Regions from separate parts of the Homo sapiens genome. Here regions 2, 3 and 4 are each linked to region 1. Evidence: promoter capture Hi-C in 16 types of primary human blood cells and fetal thymus (Javierre and others, 2016). All regions are on one chromosome and are shown on one strand. The core of a region is centred on a gene start or on the middle of the fragment in contact, and the rest is flanking DNA. Distances in the headings are between cores, read along the strand shown. Region 1 holds the start of GFOD1-AS1 (GFOD1 antisense RNA 1). Region 2 overlaps PHACTR1 (phosphatase and actin regulator 1). Region 3 overlaps MCUR1 (mitochondrial calcium uniporter regulator 1). Region 4 overlaps PHACTR1 (phosphatase and actin regulator 1).

What was found. The method cuts DNA at HindIII sites, captures the fragments that hold promoters and counts their contacts. A CHiCAGO score of 5 or more calls a contact.
Region 2: a contact is called between a fragment that was not itself captured here and the fragment with the promoter of GFOD1-AS1 in region 1, in 1 of 17 cell types (monocytes). The highest score is 5.1, in monocytes.
Region 3: a fragment that was not itself captured here is called in contact with the fragment with the promoter of GFOD1-AS1 in region 1 in 1 of 17 cell types (naive CD4 T cells); the score reaches 5.4 in naive CD4 T cells.
Region 4: a contact is called between a fragment that was not itself captured here and the fragment with the promoter of GFOD1-AS1 in region 1, in 2 of 17 cell types (neutrophils and total B cells). The highest score is 8.3, in neutrophils.

What each region holds. Positions count from the first base shown.
Region 1 is chr6:13,484,328-13,487,788 of GRCh38, forward strand. GFOD1-AS1 (GFOD1 antisense RNA 1) reads left to right here and starts at 1,934. Exons shown (of 2, transcript NR_046709.1): 1 at 1,934-2,126; 2 at 2,354-2,444. GFOD1 (Gfo/Idh/MocA-like oxidoreductase domain containing 1) reads right to left here and starts at 3,273. Exons shown (of 2, transcript NM_018988.4): 1 at 2,311-3,273. The coding sequence starts at 2,563. RefSeq lists silencers at 2,461-2,624, 2,765-3,244, 3,265-3,461 and an enhancer at 2,525-2,634. The HindIII fragment of the contact is 1,067 bases long and covers 1,145-2,211 here.
Region 2 is chr6:13,169,162-13,172,622 of GRCh38, forward strand. The region is part of intron 6 of PHACTR1 (phosphatase and actin regulator 1); the gene reads left to right. Among named protein-coding and RNA genes, the nearest start is that of TBC1D7, 160 kb to the right of the region's middle. The HindIII fragment of the contact is 5,861 bases long and covers 1-3,461 here.
Region 3 is chr6:13,795,129-13,798,589 of GRCh38, forward strand. All of the region lies in intron 6 of MCUR1 (mitochondrial calcium uniporter regulator 1), which reads right to left. Among named protein-coding and RNA genes, the nearest start is that of MCUR1, 18 kb to the right of the region's middle. The HindIII fragment of the contact is 891 bases long and covers 1,057-1,947 here.
Region 4 is chr6:13,188,255-13,191,715 of GRCh38, forward strand. All of the region lies in intron 7 of PHACTR1 (phosphatase and actin regulator 1), which reads left to right. Among named protein-coding and RNA genes, the nearest start is that of TBC1D7, 140 kb to the right of the region's middle. The HindIII fragment of the contact is 5,237 bases long and covers 1-3,461 here.

The DNA.
Region 1 (3,461 bases), core at 684-3,183:
AAACACTCGTATCTATACACTCCCAACAGCCAGATCAGCCTGATAACTGTTTGGGGTTTTTCACTTCCTACGTTCTATGTGTTGAACCTTCAACAGTGACTGTAAAGCAAACCAAGACGACCACCCCACTGTGCACTCGCAGGGGCACCCTGCAAAAGAAGGAGTTAAAAAAAGAAAGAAGAAAGAAGCTCAAAACCTACCCTAAAAACATGAACAAAACCCTATTCTGTCATCACCATTACTAAACTAGGTCTATTATGCCTCTTATCGCTGGTTTTGAAGAGGTAACAGACATGTCTTGTTAATTAAAGTCACAGGGATATTTGAAAAATAAGAACAGAAGAAGTATCCAGAAATGTCTAATTTGTGTCACATCTCTTGAAACCAGAGCCCCCAGACACTTTCATGGCCATGGTCCCAGAGACAGCCAGAAAACAAGGTCATCCTTGTTCCCCAAATTGCCACCCTCCTGCTCTAGGTTTGCTCTGTGGGTCTGAACCCAGGACAGGAACTGCCATCTTTATGGTGGAGAAACGATGTTAACAACATGGTCTTTCAGATATGACCAGTCCTAAGCTCTCCAGTATACGCAGGGCTCATCAGGGACCAGTTTTGTACAAATTGCACTAATAGAATTATACCATAAGATCGTTATAAGATATTTGATATGCAAAGAGCCAATGTAAACAAGGGAGTTATCCACCCAACATACATGTTCCATTAAACAGAAAATAAATATTAGCATTCAGTTCAATGGCATTCAGTTCAAGGCCAAAGAAACAGGCCACAAAGGGCAGACACTTAATAAAATTAACTGACAATTAAAACTGACAATGTGGGCAGCCTCCTTAGGAATTCTATCAGATGTTGCATCTGAGTCAATAGCCAAATGGCCTGATGAAAATGCCTTTCTATGGAGAAAGAGTTTTACATTCTGTTCATAGCTCTTCGAAGACAGAATTAAAACACACGTATATTTCACCTACCCTGAATCCATACCTATTTTTAACAAATAAAACAGTCTTTCCAAGACTACATAACTTCCGGCTGGTTTCTGGATGTTGTCTCTGTTCCTTCGCAGCTCCTCCCTTCTAATCTGTTCTACTATTCGCTTCATCTGGTTATAAGCTTTGTTCTTGTTATAAGCTTTGTGTTTTTCCTCACCAATAGAAACTTCAGCTTTCAAAGGTGAGCTGCTCATTTTCTTGGAATTGTAAGATCAAGCAACCTTCCTGGGATTGTTTTAGGTTACGTGCAAGAACTGATGATGAACAAAACATGCCCTTCTCTTTCCCCTGAGCATAGGCTGAGAGGCTGCTACTCTGTCCTCAGAGATTGTTCAGACTGCCTGGGAGTTGAGGGGAGCAGGGACCAGATGGTGAGGCACCCTGAACTCATCTCCAGCCCACGGGTCAACACTGTGCCTTCCGAAACTATTCCTGAAGGCGATTAGGGAGGGCCTTTTCTCATGCAAAGCATCCATGCCTCTGGAGCTACTGCGCCCATCCTCCTAAAAATTTAAAATCTATTACTCCAAATTGGGGCAGAAGACATTTCCCGGGAGGCTGCAGTCAAAAGTTAAAACCCCCTGGTTTTACCAAATCAGTCTTTACTAACCTATGACGCCTCTGAAAACATTCTAATACATCATCACCCCCATCCAACCACTCCCACCGTCCTTGCCTCCAGCGCAGACGAAATAATTCCAGCCGATGGTAACATCTGCAATCTCACGCTAAACTAACTCACAGCAGAAAGAAACAAACGACCCTAGCAGGGCGCCACCGCTGCTGAAGGGCAGGTCCTCTATCGCACCCAAGAAAACCCGACACACGTGTGCGGCCTTTTATTCAGGCGTTTCTGGGCGCGCACTCGCCTCTCCCAGGCGCGCGCGCGCACAACCCTCCTCCACCCCCCCATCCCCCCCCCCCACACACACACACTTGGACACTACACACACAGCTGAGGAGTAACTTTCCTCTTCTCGCGGAGCACCCTATCCCCTATTATCGGCATCTGATCTTCCTAGTTCGGATCCCCGGAACACACGCCTTCTCCAGCCTGCAATCTACACACGTGGGGAAGCGCGTCCAAGTGGTGCCAGGAGGCAGGAGGGAAGCGCAAAGGTGGGGAAGGCCGGGGACGAGGAAGGAGGGAGCTCTGAGTCGGATCTGGGATCTCAGATCCCCGGGGCAGCGTAGATGCAGGGTAAGCTTCTGGGATGCGGAGAGGGAAAGGCAGGGGGGAAGGAACCTAGAGAAGGTTAAAGGGCGGGGGTGGGACGGAGGATGCGGGGTAGGGGTCGCTCACCTAGGGTTTTGACAGCGATCTGTCTGGTGAGGGGCGGCGGCAGGTTAATGCACACCAAGTCCACGTCCTGATGCAGCAGCACCTCATCAATGCGGCTAGTGTAGAAGGGGACACTCATCTCCTTGGCCAGCTCCTCCGCTTCTTCCTGCGTGCGGCCCCACAGCGCCTTCACCGCGAAGCCCTCGTCTTTCAGCAGCGGGATGATGACACGGGCCGTGAGGCTGGTGCCGAACACGCCCACCCCGGGAAGCATGGCTGCTCAGAGCCGCCTGGTTCTGCTTCTGCTCGGATCTCCAGTCCAACGCGCGCACACACCCACCTCTAGCCAGTCCTGCACCCCGCTCCTGTAGCCAATCTAGCCGCGGTGCGCCAGCCGCCGTGCACCGGGCAAGGCGCCCGGGTGCCCAGAGCGCACCGAGCTGCAGGCGGAGCAAGCTCGGGGCGCCTCAGAACGGTGACTGCGGCAGTGTCCGCCACGCGGGGCTCGCGTCCTTCCCGGAGTCGGCGGCAGGGACCCCCCCAGGGCGCCGGAGGCTTCGAAGCCCCCTGGAGCCCCGGCTCAGGCTGCGCTCCCGCGGCAGCGCCAGTCCGCTGCGTGCGCCCCGCCAAGGCCGCTCCATGGCCGGCTCATCCCCGCGGCCGCGCCGCCGCAGCCCGGGACCGGCTCTCTCCCGCGTCGTTTGCGCAGCCGGCGAATCGCACAGACAAACGTCTACACCCTGCCAGAGCACGGAACCGCTCCGCGGGGGAGTCTCCTTTCTTCCTAGCTCTCCGTTGGGAATGAAATAATCCCGCGGCCGCCAGGAGGCCGGCTAAGGATGCGGCCCGGAGCGCGCCGGACTGGGATCCCGAGCTGCAGCGCGGCAGCGGCGGCCACGACCCGGCGCCAGCCTCCTCATTCTGCTGCCATGTTCGCTCGCCTCGCGGCTCGGGCGGCCTCGGCCCCAGGCCGGCTCAGGCTCTGGGATCCCGCGGGGACGAGGGCGGAGTTGGCGAGTTTGGCTGTCAGCGGCCGGTGTTCCTGCACCGCCCTCGCTGCAGCGCCGCGCGCCATTGGCCGCCGCGCGCCGCCCCCGCCCCCGCCGCCGCCAGCTCCGGGTGCGCGCTGCGCCCGGGCCCCGGGAGCCCAGCCCGGCTCCTCCCCGGCCCCG
Region 2 (3,461 bases), core at 332-2,831, 320 kb before region 1:
GTGAGGAAAGGGAGTAGGCAGTGCTGAGACTCAGGATTTGGGCGTGGGCGACTGGGTAGACCATTCCCTGAGCTGGGATCCCGAGAGAAGTGAGTTTAGGACACAAAACATTGTGATGATTTGTCCCCATTGAGTCTCAGATATCCAAATATCTAAGTAGACCTCTAAGTATACAGACATGAAACTCAAGGGAGATCTGGGCTGGGCTGGGCTGGAGATGGTTTGGACTGGTCAGTGTATACATCCTGTAGTCATGTAAATTGATGGTATTTCTCAGAGAGAATGTAGAGTAGGAAAATAAGGTGGCCCTGATAGAAAACTCCATGGAACCCCAACATTTAATGTTTGGGGAGTAAAAAAATGACCTAGGAGTAAGAAGGACCCTCAAAAACTAAGAAGTGGTCAAAAAATAGGAGGTCAACCAAAAATGTGTAGCATTATGGAAGCCAACACAAGAGACTGTTGCTCAGCTGGGGACAAAGTGGCCCACACTGTCAAATGCAGACACATCAAATAAGACAAGGAATGAGAAAAAGATCAGGAATAAAAGTGCCCTTTTGATTACATTTATGCTATTATATAGATTCTTCAGTTACCTGTGAAGCCAGTATGCAGGCAGCAGGGTGTAAGTTAAGATGCTCTAGATGCAGGTAATAAAAAGGTTAAAGAGACTGAAACAATAAGCAAATTTAGAAAGTCTGCAGGCTAATAATTTTTGTATGTTTGTCCTCTAAGGTATCCCAAATGCCTCAAACAATCTTAGAGTTTGTTGGTGCTCATTTCATATTTATTGCGTGAAAGAATGAAACTCACATAATAAAGTCCAATTGTAGGGCAGCTCCAGGGCTGGTTCATTCATCAGCTGTGTACCATGGCTAATGGATGCCATCCTCTGGCTGTAACTCCTCATGGTGACAAGATGGCTGCAGCAATTCCTACATCACATGCGTATACCACAGTGTACAGGGAACAAACGAAGGCTATATCTTCTTGGTATCTTGATGACAGCAAGAAAATTTTGCACCAAAGGTTTTTCAGGATTACCCTCATGTCTCATAGATGAAAATTTGCGCAGATAACCATCAGATATTTTCCTCTAATTTTGACAAATGTTTCCATAAATTTAAGTATTGCAAGTACAGTCACCTGCCTGAGTGCTGCTGCATGATGTAAATTCATATTGGAATATCCACCATGAAACCACCCTTTCTAACTGCTTACCTGGACCCCTCCTGTGAACTCATGGCAGGGCAGGGTACGTGGGGCATAGTGGGCATCAATGCCTCATCCACATGTCCCCGGCCTTCCAATGCTCTATTACTCCCCAGCCACTGACATGCATTGACCTTTATAACTGGAAAGCCAGCCAAACTTTGGGAGTCTAGTAGCTGATGAAGGAAAAGCTGGAAATAGCTTAGAAAAATGTTCCAGATTTCATACTTTTGCCCAAGACTTGTGTAAAGTTAGACAAGTCAATGGGGCACGCCACCCAATTCATAATGTCTAAAAGAACAGTACTCTTGCAGGAGTCCTGAGCCAGGGTTTCCAGTTCTGGCTCCATCGTGTTCTGTCTGTGGAAGATACAGGGCATCTTTTCATCTCTCTAGACTCTGGTTTCTGATTGAATATAACCCCAGGACCCTAGACTGCTGCCGCCAGCAAGGCCATGCTTTCATTTGATCCCTTCTCACTGTTCCCAGGCCCAAGCCTGCTTGATTGAAGGCAGTCTGTTACCAACCGGGTGATCCTCCTAGAGTCTCTGGGAATCATTCCATCCTCCCATGGAATGATGAACTCTTCAACTCCATTCTGGCCCTTGCCTGTCATCTCATAAAGGACATAATCCCGTTTGGGCTTAAAGGACGTAATCCAATGTGGGAAGTTAGGTCATCACCTGCTTAGAGCAGGTACTCGATCAAGGTTAGCTATGGTCTCCACCAGCCACCTGTTCTCCCTGCTCTTCTGCTCTCCTTTCATGCTTTTCTCAAGTCCTCTTCACAGTCCCCACCCCACCCCACCCCACTTCCGCCCAAGTAGAGCCGAGATCCACTGAAGGCTCAGGACTCCTCCAAGGGCCATGTGTGCCTCTGTAGTTCTGTCTCACTGCTCTCAGGGCTCCCACTGTCCATGTGTGCCCTGGAGCTCATCCCCCATCCCAGCACTCCAGGTTTCCCACAACTGCAGTTTCTCTAATAGGACTACAGTACACTGAGCCAGACACTCATTATGGTGGAGATCAGTGTAGCAGCATCATTTTAACCTCTCTGTTCCAGAAATGGATTGACTTTTGCATACATGTAAGGCCCATGGTTGTGATTTTCAAGTCTACCTTGAGCGGTGCTGTCCAGTAGAACTTTCAACAGTAACAGAAATATTCTGTCATCTGCATCGGCCAATGCAGTATCCTCTAGCTACGTGTGGTGGTGGAGCACTTAAAATGTGGTTACTCTGATTGAGGAACTGCTTTGTGAATTTTGTTCAATTTTAACGAACTTGAACACCACTACATGTGTCTAATGAATGCCCTATTTGAGAGCCCAGCTAGAGAAACAGAGCTGTGCAAATTTTGAAATGGCCATCCCCTATAACTTCCCTCCCCCAGCTCTAGCCAATTTTTTTTTTTAGATGGAGTTTCACTCTTGTTGCCCAGGCTGTAATGCAATGGCGCAATCTCGGCTCACTGCAACCTCTGCCTCCGGGGTTCAAGTGATTCTCCTGCCTCAGCTCCCAAGTAGCTGGGATTACAGGCATGCGCCACCATGCCCGGCTAATTTTTTGTATTTTTTGTAGAGACGGGTTTTCACCGTGTTGGCCAGGCTGGTCTTGAACTCCTGACCTCAGGTGATCCGCTCACCTTGGCCTCCCAAAATGCTAGGATTACAGGTGTGAGCCACCACGCCCGGTCAACTCTAGCCTTTTCTAAAATCTTGGATGCTAGGCTCAGTTGGGCTACCCTATTAATGATGAAAGAGGCCCCTTTCACAATGACTGATTCTGTGAGATTCAGACTATCAGATTCCATAGGAGAGAAACTGTGACATTCTGTTCATTTATATTCAATCTCTGCCCCAGTTGCATTTTTTATATCAAAATGCCCAGAAATAGCAAGATGGTAACTCCTCTTTCAGCTACAAACCTTGGAGCCAGAGTCATTGTTTGGAAATAGTGGTCAGAGCCCTGATAGTTCATGAGGATACATCATCTGAGAAACCATGCACTTGGCGTGCAGACTGCTGGGGAGGTATAACCATACCCGGGAGACAGGCACCACACAATTCCATGTAATGAGGCGCTCAGGTTACCAGGAGGCTGAAGGCAGGGGAAGCAGCCCAGACTCCACATGAGCCATGGTTTATTGACCATGAGGTGCAGTCAGAGGCAGCAAATACTAATAAATCCAGCAGGAAACAGCTCCAGGGAAGTGCAGCTGAAACAAGCTACCCAGGGTCAATGTCTTTGCC
Region 3 (3,461 bases), core at 252-2,751, 310 kb after region 1:
AAAAAAAGAAAAAAAAGAGAAAGAGAAACAAAAACAAAAACAAAAAACCCCAAAACCCTAAGCCAAGGAGTAGGTTGTAAAACCAAGAACAATGCTCTTTAAACCTCAGGGTTTCAGACCAGGAGAGCCCGATGCATCAGATCACCACTAGAGGGCGGCGTGGAACAAGATTTTGTGCACCACTAAACCTCAGTCTTCATTAACTCAACATTGACTCACCCACAAAAGAAGAGCCTAAATATTGACGCTGTCATGGTTTTAAAAATAACATCTATGTAGCTCTATATCCCCATGCCCCAGAAGTTTATATGCCATACTGCTTTTGGAACTGGCTGTAAATATCATAGTTAATTTGCAATTTAATATTTAACATTATAACTTTACCGAAAGAACGAGAGCCAGAAAACTCATCTTCACCAATGCATGTTACAAACACACTCGCTGTATAATTTACTACTGCCTTGTGCTTCAGAGTAATCCAAGTTTATGATTACCAAGAACAACCTCCCCGCTAGGTTACTAAATGACATAAATTCACTGGCTTGATGGGAGCTAAGCTATGATGCAAAGGCAAAAGGATGATACAGTGGACTTTGAGGACTTGGGGGAAAGGGTAGGAGGTGGGTGAGGGGCAAGACTACACATTGGGTACAGTGTACGCTGCTAGGGTGATGGGGGCACCAAAAATCTCAGAAATCACCTCTAAATAACGTCTTCATGTAACCAAACACCACCTGTTCCCCCAAAACCCACTGAAATTAAAATAATGAAACACTAAAAAAAGACTATAAGAACAATTCATAGTCACAGTTACTGTTCAAATATACCACAGACACTTTTGTGTCATGTAGAAAAAGTTACTATCATGATGGACAGGATTTAATTGAAACTCTGTGCATTGGTTGCTTTCTGGAGATTAAGGTCAATATAGTCATTCCAGATAAAGTAATTACATGTAAATCATATTTATCAGCATATTTAACTAGTAAATTCAAGTAAAATAAAATCAGGGTAAGTATTTTGAGTGCTGCATTATCAAGTCTGCAAAATATTATAAGCTTTACTTTTCTTATAAGAACACTGAATGAATCCACTCTATATATCCAATAATTTAAAAATATGAGTATTTGCAAGAATGAAATTTCATCATTTTTTTTCTTTTCTTTTTTTTTTTTTTGAGACAGGGTCTCACTCTGTCACCCAGGCTGGAGTGCAGTGGCGTGATCTCGGCTCACTGCAATCTCTGCCTCCTGGGTTCAAATGATTCTTCTGCCTCAGTCTCCCGAGTAGCTGAGACTACAGGTGGGCCATCACGCTGGGCTAATTTTTGTATTTTTGGTAGAGACAGGGTTTCACCACGTTGGCCAGGCTGGCCTCGAACTCCTGACCTCAGGTGATCCACCCACCTTGACCTCCCAAAGTGCTGGGATTACAGGTGTGAGCCACCATGCCCGGCAGAAATTTTTTCATTTTGGTTTAAAGACTAAAACTGTAATTGTGAAAAAAATTTCTGGAAAATTTTTGTTTGCTGGATGATGTTAATGACTTAAAATGAGTAAAATCTAAATGTTACATGATTGAAAAATGTACATATATATCAGCCTAGTTATGTTATTAAAATGACTCCATATAAAATTTTAAAAAAATTCACTGGCTTTAATCTACATTCATGCCCTGTATTTCCTGATGTCCTTGATGTAGTTTTTCCCAGGTTGGTTAGCTACACACAGTCATTTTCCTATATCAAGTGAATTCAGTTCTTCCTGAGTATACAACCCATAAAGATAAAGGTAACCAAAAGAGTTTCTCCTCTTCCAGACACCAGTGACATGCTATAGTCAGTAACTATTTAGTAACACTAGGTGATTTAATCTTTATGGGTGGAGACTGTTGTTGTAAGACTAGAAAGACAGGTAACACAGCCTTAATAATTATTTTGTATAACGAAGCTTGGATTAACTCTTGAAATCCAGTGGCAGTTCCAAAACACAAGTAGGTTACTTTTTTGAGTTTCAGTATTAGCTTCACTTATCATTATAGCACATTTTATCTAAAAGCAAATTGTCAAAAATGAGAAAACAACAAACAGTTGTGAGTACTCAGTTTCTGCATGTGTATTCAGTTTTGTGTTAGTGCAAGATGCTCTCTCTGCCCTATTTCTCATTATGCTAAGAATAAAAAAGGCACCTGATGTTACCAAATTCAAATAAAGTCTGAGCAAGAAGACGGCTGAATATTCAGACAGGGTTAAAAATCACTAGAGGCAACCCGACACATATCTTTATTAAAACACACTTAGGCCGGGCGCGGTGGCTCACTCCAGTAATCCCAGCACTTTGGAAGGCCGAGGTGGGCGGATCACGAGGTCAGGAGATCGACACCATCCTGGCTAACACGGTGAAACCCCGTCTCTACTAAAAATACAAAAAATTAGCTGGGCGTGGTGGCAGGGGCCTGTAGTCCCAGCTACTCTGGAGGCTGAGGCAGGAGAATGACGTGAACCCGGGAGGCGAAGCTTGCAGTGAGCTGAGATCACACCACTGCACTCCAGCCTGGGTGACAGAGCGAGACTCCGCCTCAAACAAAAACAAAGAAAAAAAAAACACACTTGCCGGCCAGGCGCAGTGGCTCACTCCAGTGATCCCAGCACTTTAGGAGGACAAGGTGGGCAGATCACTTGAGGTTAGGAGTTTGAGACCAGCCTGGCCAACATGGTGAAACCCTGTCTCTACTAAAAATATAAAAACTAGCCAGGTGTGGTGGTGGCGTCTGTAATCCCAGCTACTCGGGAGGCTGAGGCAGGAGAATTGCTTAAACCCAGGAGACGGAGGTTGCAGTGGGCAGACACGGTGCCACTGCACTCCGGCCTCGGCAACACACTGAGACTCTGTCTCAAAAAAAACAAAAATAGAAAACAAAACAAAATACCCTCACAACTTCTCACTGCACTTAAAAGACAACATAGAAATTTTCTTTTTTTTTTTGAGATGGAGTTTTGCTCTTGTCACCCAGGCTAGAGAGCAGTGGCACAATCTCAGCTCACTGCAACCTCTGCCTCCTGGGTTCAAGCGATTCTCCTGCCTCAGCCTCCCGAGTAGCTGGGATTACAGGTGCCCGCCACCATGCCCGGCTTATTTTTTGTATTTTTAGTACAGACAGGGTTTCACCATGTTGGGCAGGCACGCTGCCTCGAACTCCTGACCTTAGGTGATCTGCCCATCTTGGCCTCCCAAAGTAGTGGGATTACAGGCGTGAGCTACCGCGCCCGGCCAGAAATGTTTTAATCTTGAATTCCAGTATATAATTTAATATTATTTAATGTTAATAATTTACTATTATTCAAGCCTGAAATAATCAACTTAACTTTTACAAGATCAAGACCTATGAAGATTTAAGTCAGTATTAAATAGATCAAGATTGCATTTAATTTCTTTATGAATCTCTATGTAACATATCTCTAA
Region 4 (3,461 bases), core at 588-3,087, 300 kb before region 1:
AACTCAATTAGACTTGCTTAATTTTTATAAGTGAGCAATCAGTTATAATGAATCTGCATCACCATGAGGTAGCTACATTAACCCTGTTCTGTTACTAATTGCTCTGAAGACATCTGGGCCATGTCAGAAGGAATTAATAAACTAAGAATTCTAGAACTCTAAATTGAGACTCATGAGTTTTAGCCTGTTCTCAGTGTCTGCTGCTCTGGTGACATGTTTGAAAGGAAACACAGGACAATTGAAAGACACCAAGCGTGATTAATGGGGAGTGACAGTGGCTAATGGTCTGGTAGAATGCTGGAGGAAATGTGAGGCTGAACTGGAACTACTACCAAATTCACAGTCAGGGAAAGTCATGCAGAAATACCTCTACCGTGGCGTTTGCTTCCACTTTATCAGGAAAATGTAATTAATTTGGAGAGTATTTGTCTTACAAATTTCTTCTGTTCATCAGCCAGGTGGGGAGAAGTTCTCTCATTCTCCCTGTCTGTCTTGCTTCATTTCTTGTTAAAATCTCCTTCCATCTCACCTCCTCCAACATCAACCATGCAACAGCATGCGATACAGGGCCAGGAGTTGTTGGCATCAGTTTCCTTTGTTTCCAGAAGTACAGTGTCCGACAGAGCTTGTTGTGTAATGAATGTGATCTGAAGTGAAATGCATCCTTCTTGGAATCCTTGGAGTGATGGGTGACCCCAAAAGGGTGATGAAGGCAAAAGCCACTGTCTCCTGCCTCTCTAAGTCATCATCAGTCACTTCTCTGTGGCATTCTGGCTCCAGAAGTCAGATGTTCAACGCTGCATGAATAACCTATGCCTTCTGCATAAGGTACCTGTGGCAGGTGCCCCCGGCATGCCAGTTGAATGAAGGATAAATCAATTTAGCTGGACTTCACAGTCAGATGTTCACATTTGGGTAATAATAATGTCAGCCTTTTTTGAGAACTTTACCACATACTCTTTGATATTGTTATCATTATTACCTCTTTTCACAGATGAGCATGAAATTTGGAGAAATTAAAGGACTTGGTCGTAGTTACTTAGCTAGTAAGTGGCAGATAAGCATGAACCTATTTTTTTTGACTCCAGAATCCTCATTTATAACCATTTGTTTATAGTATCTCCACCAAAATTCCCACCCCCCCTTTTTTTTTTCTTTTTTTGAGACAGGATCTCACTGTATCTTCCAGGCTAGAGTGCAGTAGCACAATCACGGCTCACTGCAGCCTCCACCTCCCAGGCACAAGTGATCCTCCTATCTCAGCCTCCTGAGTAGCTGGAACTACAGGCACATGCCACCACGCCTGGCTAACTTTTGTATTTTTTTGTAGAGAAGGAATTTCACAAAGTTGCCCAGGCTGGTCTGGACCTCCTGAGCTCAAGTGATCCACCCATCTCTGCCTCCCAAAGTGCTGGGATTACAGGAATGAGCCACCTTGCCCGGCCTATTCCCAAATCTTTAAAAAAATCAGCTTTCTTTGTGTTTTAGCATTGTATGTTTTCATCTGCTTAAGAAGTTTGAAAATCGGCCCCTTTGTTTTTAAAAGTTGTGTTATTCTGCTTGGGCTGCCGCAACTAAAGAATGTAGATTGGGTAGTTTACACAACAGAAATGTATTTCTCTTAGTTCTGGAGGCTGGAAAGTCCAAGATCAAGGTCCGTAGGGTTCGGTTTCTAGTGACATATCTTTTGCTGGCTTGTAGACAGCTCCCTTCTCTCTATGTTCTCACATAACAGGGAGAGAGAAAGAGATCTCTGATATCTCTTCTGCTTTTTTTTTTTTTTTTTTTAAAACAGTTTCTACTCCGTCGCCCAGGCTAGAGTGCAGTGGCATGATCTTGGCTCCCTGCAACCTCCACCTCCTGGGTTCAAGTGATTCTCCTGCCTCAGCCTCCCGAGTAGCTGGAATTACAGGCTTGTGCCACTATGCTCAGCTAATTTTTGTATTTTTTTTTTTTTTTTAGTAGAGGTGGGGTTTCACCATATTGGCCAGGCTGGTCTCGAACTCCTGGCCTGAAGTGATCTGCCCGCCTCAGCCTCCCAAAATGCTGGGATTACAGGCGTGAGCCACCAAGCCCGGCTTGATGTCTCTTCTTATAAGGACATTAATCTTATCATATTAGGGTTCCATCTTCATTGCCTCATTTGACCTTGATTACTTCCTTACTCCAAATACAGTCACATTGGGGGTGAGAGTTTCAACAGATGAATTTAGGAGGTGGGGGGACACAATTCAGTCCACAGCATGACTCAAGGACAAAAATTATCTAGTTCTTCAAAAATTAGTCATATACTCAAGGCACTTGGTTATAAAGAGGAGGATCTGAGTTCAGTTGGGTCGGGTTTCAAAGAACAGACCCAAAGGAGACAGTTTGTGTAAGAGTCAGGAGCAGGGGTAAACCACATGGGAAGCATCTGACCACAGTTAGAGATTACTGACACTTCAGCAAAGAAAGGAAACTGAGGCTTATCCTTGAAAACAAGTCCTACTGATAATACACACCTACCCAGGACTTATTTGCACAGTGGTTAGAATTCAAAATACAAGGAAACTTAATATATTCTCAGAACTTAGTTGATTGCTCATTTCAATGTTACCAAAGTATTCGCTACTACAACTTTGCCTGACAAATGGTGTCCATGACCTGTGTTATTTTCAGCCCCAGCATGTGTACCTGTGTAACAAGAATCCTCTCTCCATGCTTGACCAATATTCCTGGTTATAGCTATCTCTCTAGTTTTGTGGACTTTTTCACTGTTCTACAGTCACATGCTGCTGCGTAATTTCATTATGTGTCTCTGTTTTTCTCTGATGCTCTCTCTCCCCCATTGATCCCCACATTCCCAACCCTCCATGTCCTCCTCTCCAACCCTCCAGAACCACCTGGCTACTTCTGCCTCTGTCCCTGCCTTCCCTCCCAGTAATCCCAGTGCAATAAAACCAAAGATTAGACCACTGTGAGCTTGGACTTTATCTATGCCTTTAAATGGAAAAAAAATGAATGTTTGCATAGAAGTCTCTCTTGGTAACTGATAATTTGAAGGTGTTCTGTGTTCTTTGTGAGATGGTCGGTCAAGTGCAGCCATAAGGTTTATTATACTCACGGGCCCTAGAGACAGGAGGCACGGCTCACCACACAGGGCACATGGGGAAGCCTCAGGGTGGTCAGGAGGCAGAAAGCAAGGAGAGGGGAAAGCCGAGGCCAGAGTGTTTATTGGGGTTTCTGCAGAAAGGCAAAGCAGGGCAGACAGAGCACTTTAGGACTGGCTAGTTTGCATGGTGTCAGCAGGCTCTAAGCTATACAAATGTTCTATAGTTGCCTGGTACCTGGCCATGGGATGATTAAGGCAGAGGAATAATGCATCCTGGGGTGGACAGGCCTGATAGAGGAAGTCTGGCTCTGGACTGGCTTGTTTCCATATCAAAGGGCTGCTCCTGACTTGGCCCTTGCTAACTCTGAGA